Regions from separate parts of the Homo sapiens genome. Here regions 2, 3, 4 and 5 are each linked to region 1. The links are contacts of gene promoters, found by promoter capture Hi-C in blood cells and fetal thymus (Javierre and others, 2016). All regions are on one chromosome and are shown on one strand. The core of a region is centred on a gene start or on the middle of the fragment in contact, and the rest is flanking DNA. Distances in the headings are between cores, read along the strand shown.

Region 1 (2,965 bases), core at 129-2,628:
ATCCTCCAGCTGCCACTCTGGCTGCTTCTCACCCTACACCAGGGGTCAGGAGCCATGAAAGTCCGTGAGTGATACCAGCCAGGTGGGAGGTGATAGGGAGTGGTGGGGCATGTGACTGACTGGGCATCTGGTGCCCCATGAAAAGCAGAAGCCCCTGCTCAACTCCAGGCCGTTTCTATGAGAGGAGTGCAGGCCCAGTGTTCCCGAGTATCTCATTTTCCACGAGAAGTTGGAAAACCTGACTTTTCATGTGATGTGACATTTCCTAGCGTTTAAATATTTGAGAAGTAATTAAAATTATTTCAAAACACACTAGGTAGGCCAAATAAAATGTGTCTGAGACCTAGGGCTGGTATCAGTTCTAGTCTGTCTCTGTCACTTTCCACAATCTAACCTGCCCTCCCAGCTTCAGTGGTTACTCAAATTTCAATGTCTCTGAGCGTTAGATGGCCAGCCCTGGCCTGCACCCCAGATTTACCCTAGAATTCATCTGCATGTGGGTGCCCACACACCTCCAATGCAAAGCGGAGCCCATCAGCCTCCCAGATTTGGCAGACTGTAGGATCTCAGTAAGTGTGAGCTATTTTTGTCTTTGTTCCACTAACAAAAATACTACTACTACTAACACTGCTACTAATACTCATGCTACAAAGAATAATCTCTTGCCCCTCTTTTGTTCCATTTCTGTTACTCAACACCACTGCCCCATCAGGCAGCCAGGGAGGACCCTGTGATCTTGGACTCTTCACTCCCATTCCCGGCAGTTAGTGGATTGTGTTTATTCTTCCACGGCCCTCTAGAATGTGCTTCCAACTCTTCCTTCCAATTAACTAGAAACTCTCCTAGTTGCTGAACTTGTCATGTGTTCTCAGCTATTGTCTCAGCCTCTAACTGCTCACCACCAGGCGCTACCTCTGCATTTAAGATTTATTCATCACGCTGTGGCTAGTGTCATCCCCTAAATTGCCGTGCAGCTCTCATCACTCACCTCGGATGGATCCCACCGGCTGCCCCCGCAGTTCCTCAGCCATCCCTGCATGCCAGCTGTACCAGGCACTTGTATGCCTCTGCATTTGTGCTGGCTGTGTCCTCAGGCGCATTTTCTTCCTTCATGCCTACTATGTTAATTCTGTTCGTCCTCATCTCTGGTCAAATGCCACCTCTTCCACGAGGCTGTCACTTGCCTTCCCACCACCAGCCCCAGTGTTATTTGCCCCGTGCCTCTTCCAAGCTCTCACAGCACTTGATCTAAGTCTCTTTTCATTTCATCCGGCTGTGTATTATGAAGTTTGCTTGATTCTTCCCCCTTCTCTTGATTAGCTCCTGGATGAAGAGACACTGTCTTTGTCATCTGCGTATCCCCAAGAAACCCCTAGTGTGCTGCCTTACATGTAGTAGACACCTTGAAAACCTTTGTCAATTGAATCAAAGTTTGTTTGTGTGTGTGTGTGTTTTGTTTTTTCTTTTGGTTTGTTTTTTTTGTAAGTTGAGGATGGCTGCATCTAAAGGGCTCAGGCCAAGGTATTAAAAACAAAACTGCTTGGTTATTCAAAAGGATTTATCAGAACCCCAAGAGGCTAAGTATCAAGCTAGTGAAAGGGTTATTCTGCCTGTCCCCAATTCCAAGGGTGCAGTTTTTAGAGGACGGACGGTCGTGTTTGGTCTACTTGTCGTCAGGCAAGGCCTCTTCCACAGTGCCCCATGGAAGCTTGGGTTCAGTGCCAGGGGCAGGGAGGAATGGGCAAGCCTCTTGGACACTGGGGCTTCAGCCACCCTGGCATATAGAGTCCTGCACTGTTTGTCTTGCCCAGAAGAACAGGCTGTACCCACCCATTCACAAGATGTCCTCTCTCACATCATTGGCAGGCCTGGGAATTTCCCACAGGCCATCTGGGTGTGTTCTGCCGTCCTGTCTCCCAAGTTTTTTGCAGCATTGTTTCTTGTTAATTAGCTCTTAGAATAGCAACTGCTCTTCCATCAGGAATTGTATCCCGTTGACTTTCCTAAGGCAAGAATCTACTCATTTCTTTTTTGTAAGCATTTTCTCCCTTCCTGCCTGCATTGCACAGGCTTACTTAGTGAGAGCCCAAGCAGTGTGAACTAACTCCTAGCTCTTACAGAACTGAGTTACTTATAATATGCATCTCCTGAATCCTGGGTGACCACTGTAAGTGCCTGAAGTGGCAGCTGCTCTGACTGGGCCTGTGCAGCTCTGAATGCTGCATTTACTTTTGGGTCCTGCCTCCAACCCAGAACCACCTGTGGCCTTTAATTCCTGTTACTAGGAGAGAGGAGAAGCGATTAAACCCTGTCAGTATATTCATTTATTAGCTGCCCTTTGAAGCTTTTTTGAAAGCATTTTACAAGGTATATCCCGTCAGGTTGCTTAGGAACTTTTGCAGCCTCCTTCTTCAACATTATCATTTTCATTTGAATCAACACTGGCAGCTTGACACCTCTGGACACCTGGCATGGCAGTGGGAGGTACCTCCAAACACTGTCTTTCCGTGTCTGCACCTTCAACAAGATTTTCTCTGTAAATTCAGCTCCAAAACAATTTTTATAAACACAGCATTACTTTTGTGTTGTTCACAAATCAGATTTGGAAAGAGGTGCTTGGGGACTGTCATGAGTCTATTTAAAGATAACCTGATTTAAATAAAAACAAAAACAAAACTTTTTATCCAAGGCAATTTTCTTTCAATATGGGAAATTAAATTAGCTTCAGTGTCTTTGAAATTGAGAACCACACTCCGGCCATGAAAAGTGAATTATCCTGTACTAATCCTTGCTCAGGAAGTGATCAAAACACCTTTCCTGGCTATTTTGTGAAAGCAGATTTAGCCCAGCATATTTTGATAGGAGCCCAGCACTAAGGAAGTTTCCCAACTGATGGAAATACAGAGAATCTCTATGCACACATCGCTTAGCTGTGTGGCAGCGCTCGTTTTAGTTTTTGGTCTAT
Region 2 (2,965 bases), core at 130-2,629, 110 kb before region 1:
AAGGGCACAGTGCAGGGTGTGTGGAAGATTTTAGTGTCAGTTCTAGCACAAGCTAGCTAAATGTGTCTCGGGGTACATTAACTTCTCTAGGCCCCAATTTCCTAGGTATTCATTCTTCTTCTAGACAATAGACAGTTGAATTAAAAAATCCTTTCTATCGACCAGGTGCAATGGCTCACACCTGTAATCCCAGCAGTTTGGGAGGCCGAGGCAGGAGGATCACTTGAGCCCGTGAGTTTGAGACCAGCCTAGCAACACAGCAAGACCCTGTCTCTTAAAAAAAAAAATCCTTTCTATTCCTAGAACTCTAGGGTAGTGTGAAGTAAGGGTTTTCACAGTTACACTAGGTAAGTTACTACCTGTCGGGTACTTCTCTAATTATGCTGTGCTTATTAACTTATCAAGTCCTCAAATGGCCCTATGAGGAACATATCCTTTATGTTCTATAGATGAGGAAACTGAAGCATTGGATGTTAAACAACTTGCCCAGGGCCACCGAGCTTATAAGGGAAGAAGCCGTCTGCACACCCCAGGCTCCAGATTCCACAGCCTCAACCACCAAACTCTCTTGTCTGTCGTCATATAGAAGGCTGTTCTGTTTTCTCAGTGTAGCCCCCTTAAAGATAAGCCACAGTAAACCACAGTGCTTTTGATATTAGGCAAATTAAACTTGAGTTCAATCGTATGTTACACTGAATCAAAGTTATATTCGCTGTGCATTTTACGCCAGTAATTCTGGAAACTAAAAAGTGCCATGCCAGAAATTTTCTCTGATTTAATTTGCTTACAATCATTTTAAAAATGAGGAGCTGTGATCCACGCTTTTGCCCCAGGTTGGAATATTTTAGAAGTACTTTCAAATATATATTTCTGCTGCTGGGATATAAAACCATAAATTCGAGCAGATAGAACAAAAGACCAAAGAGGATGATGTATTTACTGTTTTTGAGTTAAAGTTACAACAGTTTACAGAATCACAGCAACCGAGAATAGGAGTTCTCAGAGACATACTCCTCATCCACAGAAGCCTCACATGACCAACACAAGTTTCAGTCCAGTGCAACTTTTTGCAAATGAAAACTTACCCTGGGGTTGTTTGGTGACTCCTAGTCACATGTGCTTTCTAAAGTTCTCAAAACAAGCATGGGGTGACAGTCCAGTTTTATGAAATATAATTTTAGTTCAGAAGAGATGGGATTTTAGAATAGTTAATCTTCATTATATTTGACATAATTACTCTGCACCCTGTGGATGGGGTGGCTTTTCAAAACCCACTTCTGGTGAGGCAGACCAGGGCTCCAGGCCAGCACCCCTCTGGAGATTGGAATGTGAATTTCCGTGCTGGGACACAGAGCCAGCTTCCTATTTATTTAGAGCCATTGGGCACCTAAGGAGCCAAACAGAAGTTGTGATGCAAGTTTTGGCTGCAGAGCATGTTAGGGTTGCCTGACGTGTCTAACTAAAACATGATCTGAGAGATTTCTCAAAGCCCTGGTTGATTTAAGCACCATAGTATTCAATAGGGTTTTTTTTTAGTCCTTTTAACTCAGTCCTAAGTAAACAGGAGGCGGTGCAAACAATGAGGAAGTTCCCTCTGCATTCCGATGGTGAAGTGGGGTTGGAGTCTGTAGGCAAGTGAAGAGCGTGTGGGAGAGCTGTTTCCTTTTGCTCATGGCAGCAGTCTAGAACATGGTGACAGTGAAAGTCATTGGAAGCCATGGGGGCCCATTTTCTTTATGTGACCAAATGTCTTGCAAAGTCCCAGGTGTGTGTGTAGGTGCATGAGTGTGTATGTTTGTTTTCTAAACGAAGCACACGTGCAAAATAATGTAAAAGGGCAGAGTGAAGTTTGTCCATGTCCCTGTATGAAAGTGCATGGGAAGTGCCTGGGGCAGAAGTGAAAGAGACACGGCCCCAGGTCGTGAGAGAAGACATTGAGGTGCACTCCCGGCCTGCTGTGGGAACAGTGGGTTAGCATGTCACCGGTGCACTCCCAGGCTGCTGTGGCAACAGTGGGTTAGCATGTCACCCGGCTTTAGGATTTGGGGGAGTTTGCTCAGGCTCTGAGGCAGGTAGGTTAAGGCTAATTTAACTCTTAATGGTTGGAAGGAAAGAGGGAAGGGCCGTTTAGGAAGGTGAAAAGGCAGGAGTGAAGGTGGCAAGAAATGATTGGCATGCAGTTTTTTCCTAAATCCTCCTCTGGTTATAAGGAATCAACTGGAAAATTGCAGTGGCAATAGCTGTTAAGAAAAAAAATAGGATTCAGTTGATGAAATATTAAACATGCAAGTGGGCTGGTCTTTTAACCAATCTTTGTAGTATTAAGGGATTAAAAAGTTAATTCTTGGTAATTAGATCCCCAGGGAGAACTTAATTTGCATCTATACATGATAAGTGTTTACTATTAATAATTCAAGACAAGTTTTGCTTTGGCCGGTATTGAGCTGGGTCTCAGGCTGGTGATAACAGAGGCTGGATAGAGAGTGATACCATTAGCCTAATTTTGTCATCTGCAAGCAAAGGAATGTTAAAATCTGTTCACTTCGTGGTTTCTAAATGACTTCTAGAAGTATCATGAGTGGAAGAGGGCAGTGTAGTGTAGTAACTTTTGTTCTTCCGCAGTCCTTAGAACCTGTCAGGATTATTGGTTATGACACTGTTCCCACAGGGTGGACAACAGGGGCATTTTTATCTTCTTGAGACATATGGGAAACTTAAGAAGGAAAGTAACTAGGCTGTTTGCCAAAGATTACACCTACCTCCAAACAAAAACTGAGGCAGGTATAATTTTAACTGTGCTGGAATCTCTGAAGATGTTGGTGTCTTGGCCAAATTCATTTGGACTCTTTCTGCATTTCACTCTTTGAGATCTATTGTGTAGACTCTAATTTCTTTGACAGGTATTGTCACATTGGTCTCCACAAAAATTATTATTGAAAGCCAGGCATGGTGGCTCACGCCTGTA
Region 3 (2,965 bases), core at 200-2,699, 90 kb before region 1:
CCTCTCCTTTCCTTTTTCCTTCCTTCCTCCCTTCCCCTTCCCCTTCCCCTTCCCTGTCTTCATTCCTTTTTGAGATGGGGTCTTCCTCTGTCACCCAGGCTGGAGTGCAGTGGCACAATTATGGTTCTCTGCAGACTCGACTGCCTAGGCTCAAGTGATCCTCCTACCTCAGTCTCCCAAGTAGGTGGGACTGCAGGTGTGCACCACTATGTCAGGGTAATTTTTTATTTTTTTTTTTGTAGAGATGGAGTCTCACTTTGTTGCGCAGGCTGGTCTCAAACTCCTGGGCTCAAGCGATCCTCTCGCTTTGGCCTCCCAAAGTGTTGGGATTGCACAGGTGTGAGCCACTGTGTCTGGCTGAAATAGCATTTTTAATAGCAATTTGTTTCACGGATAAGATTGTATATACAGTTATATGACAAGAAATAATGAGCATGAGCAACAAGTAATAAACAGAAAGCAAAAGAAGGACTTTTTTCCTTTCTTTCCTTTTTTTTTTCTTTTTTCTTTTTTCTATTTGTTTTTTGAGACAGAGTCTCGCTTTGTCACCCAGCCTGGAGTGCAGTGATATTCGCTCACTGCAACCTCCACCTCCCAGGTTCAAGCAATTCTCCTGCCTCAGCCTCCCGAGCAGCTGGAATTACAGGTGCCCACTACCGCGCCTGGCTGATTTTTGTATTTTTAGTAAGACGGAGTTTCTCCATGTTGGCCAGGCTGGTCTCAAACTTCTGATCTCAAGTGATCTGCCCACCTTGGCTTCCCAAAGTGCTGGAATTACAGGCATGAGCTGCCACGCCCAGCCTTTCTTTTCTGTTTTAAAATCAGCTTCCTGTCACTGTGGTCTGGTGAAAGCCTAAAACCCAGGATCCTGGGTTATGCTTTTGTCTGGGGACCAGGCAGGACAGGTGACCAGTAACTATGGGCGTCAGCGTCCTCACCTCTAAAGCGGTTCAACTTGAAGATCTCAGAGGCTCTGCACAGCCCTGGAGTCCAGCAGTTCTGAAGTTTTGGTTTATGGATTGTGAATTTATCATTCACATTCAGCAGGAGACAGGAGTCTCTCCCTCTGGACTCTCAGGAGTGAGTGGAGTTGTGTCAGTTGCAGTGCACATGTTTTTGTCAGCACTCTCCCTGAATGACCTCCACCTGCTGTCATCCAGTTGAGCCTTGGCTGCTTCCCAAGCCCATGTCTTACTGTTGCCTTCCTGGTCAGCGTCTAGAGATGGGAAATAGCCATGTAAGATCTGAACGGTGTAGCTTGGTGTCCAGTTCAGGAAAATTATCGACTCAACTAATTAATCTCTGGGTGCTGAGGAAGGGAAGTGCAATTACTGTGAGATTCTTGATAATCCTGAAAATGTCAGCACCAACCACCTCATTTCCTTTTTACTGAAGGACTCCTGCCTAGTAGATCAGGGACTTTCATTGACAATTTTTTTTTTTTTTTGAGACGGAGTCTGGCTCTGTCGCCCAGGCTGGAGTGCAGTGGCACAATCTCAGCTCACTGCAAGCTCCGCCTCCCTGGTTCACGCCATTCTCCTGCCTCAGCCTTCCGAGTAGCTGGGACTATAGGCACCCGCCACCACGCCCAGCTAATTTTTTGTATTTTTTTTTTTTTTAGTAGAGATGGGGGGTTTCAACGTGTTACCCAGGATGGTCTCGATCTCCTGACCTTGTCATCCTCCCGTCTCGGCCTCCCAACGTGCTGGGATTACAGGCTTGAGCCACCGCGCCTGGCCTATTGACAATTTATTGAATTGCCACTACGATAAATGTTTTAATCCTTATATTAGATCATACTAAATCAGCAATGACTGTTACATGTGATTTAGATGAATGGGTTTCATCAAATCATGGTGAAAAAATGTATTTGAAACCTATTATGTAAAAAAATGTATTTGAAATCCGGTCTGTCTGTCTTGTGGGTAGGCGGGCAGGATGCCAATATTGTGCGGGGATTGCTAATGCATGGGACAGTTATCCCTGAAGAGCAGAGATTAAAGATATCAGCCTGAACTAGGGCTTCTGAGATACAATGGGAATAAGATAAGAATAGGAATAAAGATCATGCAGCACGATCTTTAGGAATGGACAGTGCACTTGTCATTTGAATCAAGTATCCTTAATCCATGACATCCGGTGCCTGGCTGGATGTTAGACTTTTGATCTGTTGTCTAGTGGTAGCTTATCTTATAAATGTCTCAAGGTGGGCCAGCTGCAAAAGTCACCTTGCCTTTAGGTAGCAACATCCTCAGGTACTCAGTAGGATGGAACTGGAAAGCCAACTGAGGCAGGCACACTTACCTTCCATTCATTGTGTTGAAACTAGAACTCTCATCATGCTGGTGAGAGTGTAGATTGGTCAGTCTTATTGTAGACGGTAAGTTGGCTGTGTATCAGAAGTCTTCAAAATTAGCACTTTGGCCCAAGGAATTCCATTTGCAGGAAGTTATCTTAAGAAACTGAATAATGATAATGACAATACAGCTTAAGTTTATTGAATGTGCCAGGCACCAATCTAAGTGCTTTACATGCATTTGTTCATTTAGGCCTCCTAATGACTCATGTGGCAGATGCTTTAACCTTCTCTTTGTCAGAAGAGGAAACTGAGGTAGGGAGAGGCTGGGTAGGTAACTTGCTCAGGGTCTTAGGTTAGCTTGCAGAGCTGTTATTGAATCCAGGCAGCTTGCTTGAGAGCTAGACCCTTAATTACTCTGTTTTGAAGATTTGCATGAAGTGTATTCACTCCAGTGTTATTCACTGTGGTGAAAAAGGGGAGATGCCTCATCCTTCTAATGGCAGGGGAATTAATACCTTGTGAGATATCCATGAAATGGATATTGAATAGCCGTTAGAACTCATATTCTTGAAAGAAATTTAAAGGCATGAAAAATACCCAGGACAAATTTTTGAATACAAATGTATGTTATGAAACCATAATTTGATTATGTTTTTAAAAATTAAC
Region 4 (2,965 bases), core at 204-2,703, 84 kb after region 1:
CTTCGCAGGAGGAACACTGTATGTGTTAGTAGAAGAATTTCGATGAGTCATTTGGAGTAGGATGGAGAGAGGAAAAAGAGGATGAGAGACACCCTCCCTCTCCAAAAGCCATGCTGTGGTAATAACAGGTGGTTTGATAGACTGGTTTCTAAGGAGAACGGGTTGCCTTAACTTGGAAGATTATGCTTGGGCTAAATGTGTTTTCTTGGGTCAGAGCTGGAGTGAAATTTTTCTTGAAGGAAAAGGTAGAAAGTTTGAAATGGCCTCATTGACTCTCTTTTGTAATCATTTCCCCATGCAGCTTGCCTAACCCCTGAATTTCTGCCCATCATTTGCTAAACAAAATGATGTCTGTGTCACTTGGCTTCTGGGCTTTTGGTATATGTATCCCACATCAGGGCAATAGGGCTCTGCTTCTTTGTGAAGGCTTGGGAAGAGCCTTAGACAACATTGTGGGGTATATTTGACAATAAAAGCCAGTTGCTGCAGATCCCAGTGCACTCCCTACACTCAGACCGCATCAGATGCCTTTCTCCCGCATTCTAATGCAAAAATGACCAAAATAGTCTTCCTCTAAACATTGGGTACCACTGGGGGATTAAGATGTTTTACCACTAAAATTGAATAATGTTAACCTTACCTAATTCACACACACATAAACTTACCCCATGTCTGATACAGACTCCAGGGGTTGGGGTCAGTGATGGGAGATGTTTGGTTATGGGATTAGATAGCAGGTGGCAGGGGAGGGGAGGGGTCTGGGGATGGATGTAAGAATCAGGGATGTTTGGTAGCAAACAGTGGTTTTACAGGTTAATACAATTGTTTAAACATGACTGAGTGAAATGGCACTCTCTGATGGGCCATTTTGCATTGTCATGCTTTGTTCTTATAGATGCCATCCTGCAAGCTTGAATGCCCTTTTTCTCCACCAGTGACCCCTGCCTCACAGAACTAATTTCTGTTCATCTCTCAAACTCCTGGCCAGGTGTCACCTTCCCTCAGTTATTCTTCACTGGCCCCAAGTTGGGTGAGGTGCCTGCCACCCCTCTGTGTGCTAGTGGCAGTGGCACTGTTGCATTTTCCTGGGGTAGCTCTGATCACACTGTACTGTGATTATTTATCTGCCCGTCTCTCTTCTCAAGGCAAGAACTGGATCTTAGTCTTCTCTCTATCCCTAAGGATTTCACAAAAATATGCCTACTGATAGGAGATGCTTATTGAATGAATGAAAAAATGAATGGGTGAGGTTCTAGGACGGTCTGAACTCTAAAACCTGCCGAAGCTCCATGAGCACAAATAAACCGGAGTCCTACAAGACCTCTTGCCACACACAAACACACACATGAATTAATGTGTAATCTTTGCTCCATTTAAAATCTTTTCATCTTGAATCCCTCTTATAGTTTTGTTCCTCAGCATTGGCAAAATGTTGGCATAATGCTTAAAGAACATGAGTTCTGGAGTCAGACAGTCTGGGTTGGAGGCTAATCTTTACTTCTTGCTGTGACACTGGGCCAGTGACTTAACTTCTTTATGCCATTTTCTTATCTGCAAAATGAAGGTAATACTAGTGTCTGTCTCATGAGGTTGTTCCTATATTTATATTCATGGAAAAACTTACAAATGGCTCATATTTATTTTAGCAGAGAGTTTTTGACATGGACATATGTGCTCATGATTCTGATATTGTATACATATATTATAGCCTAATGAATTAATTAGGTGTTTCACAAGGGACACCATAACACTTAGAGGCTCTGTCATTTGAATAAATTTGAGCCCCATTGATGTAAAACATGCAGAAAATCTCAAGTCACTAAATATATGTTCAGTCTCTATTCTGTTTCTTGGCAGCTTTATGACCTCAAGCAAGTCCCCTAATTTTTAATCTCAAATTTTTAATCTGTAAAATGAGGCTACTTATATTTGCGTAACTTCTAGGATTTTTCAGTGCTCAAATAAAATATTACAAAATATGGAGCCATATGATATAAAAGCTTATTATTATTGCCACTAGTATTTTCTCTAATCAAAATCTAACAATTCAAGGTTTTCCCTAATCCTTTAGGGCTCTATGAAAACACATTATATTGTGTTCACAAGTATCCAATTCTCCTCTCCTGGACACAGGAAGACTGTACTGCTTTGCCTCCCTCTGTGGGGCCACCTGACTTGTAGCTAATGAAATGTAAAGCAGTGCAAAACCTAGGCATGATTCTCCAGCCCCCCATCCCCTAGCACAGCACCTAAGTCGACGTGCTCCAGACAGCACAGCTACAGGTTAGTAACCAAGCCATTCTAACTTGGTAGTAGGTAAGATGTGAGGAGCCCTTCTGAGTTACTTTATTTGCATTTCAATTAAAACCTCTGAAGATAAAATGTCATAATACAAATAAATGATTCAAGTGATTAAATGTCAGCTCCTATAACTGCAAACCCACTGGGGAATATTTTTTAAGTAGAAAATGTCTGTTACTCACTTCAATCACATTTAGTGTGTGTCTGCTTACTTTCGTGTAGAGCCAATTCTGGGTGCTTAGCCAGAATACTAAATGACCACATGAGCTAACATTAGGGTTGCCAGATTGAGGGAAAAAAATAAAGGACATCCAGTTTAATTTGAATTTCAGATAAATAATGAACATCTTTTTAAATATAAATGTGTCCTATGCAATATTTGGGACATATTTGTACTAAAAGAATTATCGGTGGTTTACCTCAAAGTCAAACTTAACATGATGCCCATGAAATATTTGAGACTTACTTATACATTGTTTTTCTGAGGTTCAAATTTAACTGAGTGCTCACTGTTTCATCTGGCAACTCCAGCTACATGGTGCCTTAGTCAATGGTGCTTTTACGGTTGTTTATACTTAATTGCTATTAAACCCGAAAGGGCAAACATAAACTAGACAATTACTCTAAGCAATATCCTGTTTGACCTTGCTGCAAGCTAAGGCAA
Region 5 (2,965 bases), core at 286-2,785, 71 kb before region 1:
TGGTGGTTGGCGGCGGGGGTAGGGGGGTGGTGATGAAGAAGCAAAGTCATAATGGGTCTGATGTCCTTTGCTGAGGAGCTTAGACTAAACTGTTTAGGTAAAAGGAGCCAGCAAAATCTTTAAGTGAGGGAGTAACATAAGATTTGCATGTTAGAAGGCTCTCTCTGGCTGCTATGTACAGAGGGAGGCTAATGGCAGCAGATCTGGTGAGGATGCTGGGCCCGTGATCTGGGAACTTGCCTGCCCCAAGGCAGCAATCATGGGAGTGGAGTCAAGGAAACACTAAAGAAGTAGACATGATAGGACTTTTTAAGTGGGAATGGCCAGGGCTCTGGCCATTTGGAAGCCTAAAGAGAATGGAATAGCATGAGTTCGGTTTGGGGGAAATTCAGTGGTAAGATGCTTGTTTGTCAGAAACACACTTGAGATGGGAGATCAGTTTGGTGTCATCCATGTCCTCTTGGTAAGTGGAAACTATAATATAAAATCTTTCAGGCCAGGTGCAGTGGCTCACACCTGTAATCCCAGCACTTTGGGAGGCCAAGGTGAGTGGATCACCTGAGGTCAGGAGTTCGAGACCAGCCTGGCCAACATGGCAAAACCCTGTCTCTACTAAAAATACAAAAATTAGCCGGGCATGGTGGCACGCACCTGTAATCCCAGCTACTCAGGAGGTTGAGGCAGGGAGAATCGCTTGCACCCGGGAGGCAAAGGTTGCAGTGAACCAAGATCACGCCATTGCACTCCAGCCTGGGCAACAGAGCGAGACTCTGTCTTAAAAAAAAAAAAAATCAAAAATCTTTTAGTAGATGTTTATAGAGAGAGAAGAGAGGAGACTTGAAGAAGGAATTCTAAGTAAGGGTTAAGGTTGAGTGGAAAAAAGAAGAAGAATCAGAAGGAAGTGGTTTCATAGTAGGATAAATCAAGTGCTGAGATGAAGTCAGTTCACTAACAGACTCAGAGTTCTATTGGATACGGCATGAGGTTCTTGGTGTCACCATCTTAGGATCTGCTCATTTTTGGGGTTTTAAGAACCTGTCTGAACTCCACTTAGCCAACTGAAGCTTGCCTTCAAAGTTAACACAATGTGCTTTCTCCCATATAAACCTTTTAAGCTGTTTCTGATGACTGTTCCCCTTCCTGTTAGAGCTCCACCTCTTTTAATTTAGCCTCCATACCTTTAGAGTAAGGTCTGCAACTTTCTTCCTTAATTGACAGTGGAGATCAATATGTAACCCAGATTGCAAAAATGGTTTGGGAACACTGCATGTTCTCACTCATAGGTGGGAGTTGAACACATGGACACAGGGTGGGAAACATCACACACTGGGGCCTGGCAGGGGATGGGGGGCTGGGGGAGGGATAGCATTAGGAGAAATACCTAATGTAAATGACGAGTTGATGGGTACAGCAAACCAACATGGCACATATATACCTATGTAACAAACCTGCACGTTGTGCACATGTACCCTAGAACTTAAAGTATAATTTTAAAAAAATTTTTTAATAGTTTGGGAAGAAATTGTGGGCATGTCATTTGCTTGAACAGATTTTGTTCCCCAGCCAGAGGACCAGAGAAGAGTTTGTCATGGCTACAGTGGAGGAATCAAACTCAGAATAGCATGTGAAAGGCACATTCCACACAGAAACTTCGGCCCGTGCATCAGCACTGCAGACAGGGGGAGAGGAAATGAATTCTCAGCCAGTAGATTCCCAGGCATCACCTTGAGGCAGATATGGCATATTCTTGGCCATAGTCTCTACTTCTCTAACTGGGCAAAGTGTCTAATCAACTATAACCCAAAATATCTTCCCACATGGCATAAGTGTCGAATTCATACATAGATCAGAGGGAGAAATGAAATTGTGGTTGTCTTAAAAGTTTACACAGTTTAGGGATCTCCATCATGAAAAATGATCTAAATAAATGAAATGGTATTTTTACTCTTTATCCTACAAGCCCTATACAAACTAAGTCCATAAATATCCTATTTGATGCTTAAACCAAAAGCTTTATAAAGAGAATTTCACTATGTGAAATAATGACTTGAAGAAATCCTATTGTGGATGCTTTTGTTAAGTTGCTAAACCTTTTTTAAAAAGTAGATAATCATCCAAGATATCTTCTTTGTGACTCTTAAGTTTTAGTGTATTTCAAATGTGGATAGTTTTTGACTAGGAGGTTTGTTCAAACGTTCTTCTCGACCACTAGGGGGTGCTCTAAAGGTTAGTGATGTCTAAATGATTGACCAATCAATTAAAACACCGTGCCCAGTTAGCAATCATCTCCACTGAGAGATGCCTGCTTTACCAGGCTAAAAAAATGATCTTTATCATGGCATAGAGACTATAAAAGCTGTGTCCTTTTATTTTCATTAACCTAATTAGAAGTCAAGCTAATTGTAGGACTTCATAGAACTGGCATCGGGAATAGCATGCAACTGTTAAAAAAATCATGGTCTTGATGACTAATTATATCAGGAAATAATATGCAATATAAATGAAAAGAGAAGTGTATGTTTTTTACTTTTTCCTTTCTGTTTTTAAAACATGCTATAAAATGTTAAGTATAATTAGGACACAAAGGAAAAATTAAATCTAGTTAACATTACCTTGAAAACTTCTTATTTGCCCTGAAATCTCCAGTTCTTTGGAAGCTAAAAGCTTGAGACTTCTATATCTGGTTGTCAGGATTAGGGTGATTTTATTTGAATTTTCTTTATTTTCTTCTCAATTTTCTATCTATTTACTTTGTAATTACATTTGAACTATGGATATGTAATTAGTTTTATAAATAGAAAAATCAAAGCTTTATAAAGGAAAATATAGCATCAGCAGACCTGATTGTCCTACTTAACTCTTCCACAAACTGTTTTAACTATGGGCAAGGTACTTCACTTCTTTGCCCTTTGCTTCTGTAAAATGGTTGGGTGAAACGAATCTTGGCAGTTTGTTCCAGCTCTTC

Evidence for each region. Contacts are between HindIII fragments. The CHiCAGO score rates a contact against its expected background, and 5 or more counts as called.
Region 2: a fragment that was not itself captured here is called in contact with the fragment with the promoter of PRKCH-AS2 in region 1 in 2 of 17 cell types (neutrophils and activated CD4 T cells); the score reaches 7.8 in neutrophils.
Region 3: a fragment that was not itself captured here is called in contact with the fragment with the promoter of PRKCH-AS2 in region 1 in 7 of 17 cell types (neutrophils, activated CD4 T cells, total CD4 T cells and 4 more); the score reaches 19.7 in neutrophils.
Region 4: a fragment that was not itself captured here is called in contact with the fragment with the promoter of PRKCH-AS2 in region 1 in 10 of 17 cell types (neutrophils, activated CD4 T cells, non-activated CD4 T cells and 7 more); the score reaches 24.1 in neutrophils.
Region 5: a contact is called between a fragment that was not itself captured here and the fragment with the promoter of PRKCH-AS2 in region 1, in 13 of 17 cell types (activated CD4 T cells, neutrophils, M1 macrophages and 10 more). The highest score is 20.1, in activated CD4 T cells.

What each region holds. Positions count from the first base shown.
Region 1 is chr14:61,544,106-61,547,070 of GRCh38, forward strand. It overlaps PRKCH-AS2 (PRKCH antisense RNA 2), which reads right to left and starts at 1,379. Exons shown (of 3, transcript NR_188139.1): 1 at 989-1,379. The region is part of intron 12 of PRKCH (protein kinase C eta); the gene reads left to right. The HindIII fragment of the contact is 1,799 bases long and covers 1-1,706 here.
Region 2 is chr14:61,437,656-61,440,620 of GRCh38, forward strand. The region is part of intron 2 of PRKCH (protein kinase C eta); the gene reads left to right. Among named protein-coding and RNA genes, the nearest start is that of PRKCH-AS2, 110 kb to the right of the region's middle. RefSeq lists an enhancer at 1,618-1,987. The HindIII fragment of the contact is 9,604 bases long and covers 1-2,965 here.
Region 3 is chr14:61,453,601-61,456,565 of GRCh38, forward strand. All of the region lies in intron 7 of PRKCH (protein kinase C eta), which reads left to right. Among named protein-coding and RNA genes, the nearest start is that of PRKCH-AS2, 90 kb to the right of the region's middle. RefSeq lists an enhancer at 1,164-1,333. The HindIII fragment of the contact is 5,606 bases long and covers 1-2,965 here.
Region 4 is chr14:61,628,309-61,631,273 of GRCh38, forward strand. The region is part of intron 1 of LINC03033 (long intergenic non-protein coding RNA 3033); the gene reads left to right. Among named protein-coding and RNA genes, the nearest start is that of LINC01303, 59 kb to the left of the region's middle. The HindIII fragment of the contact is 1,090 bases long and covers 909-1,998 here.
Region 5 is chr14:61,473,217-61,476,181 of GRCh38, forward strand. The region is part of intron 9 of PRKCH (protein kinase C eta); the gene reads left to right. Among named protein-coding and RNA genes, the nearest start is that of PRKCH-AS2, 71 kb to the right of the region's middle. The HindIII fragment of the contact is 947 bases long and covers 1,063-2,009 here.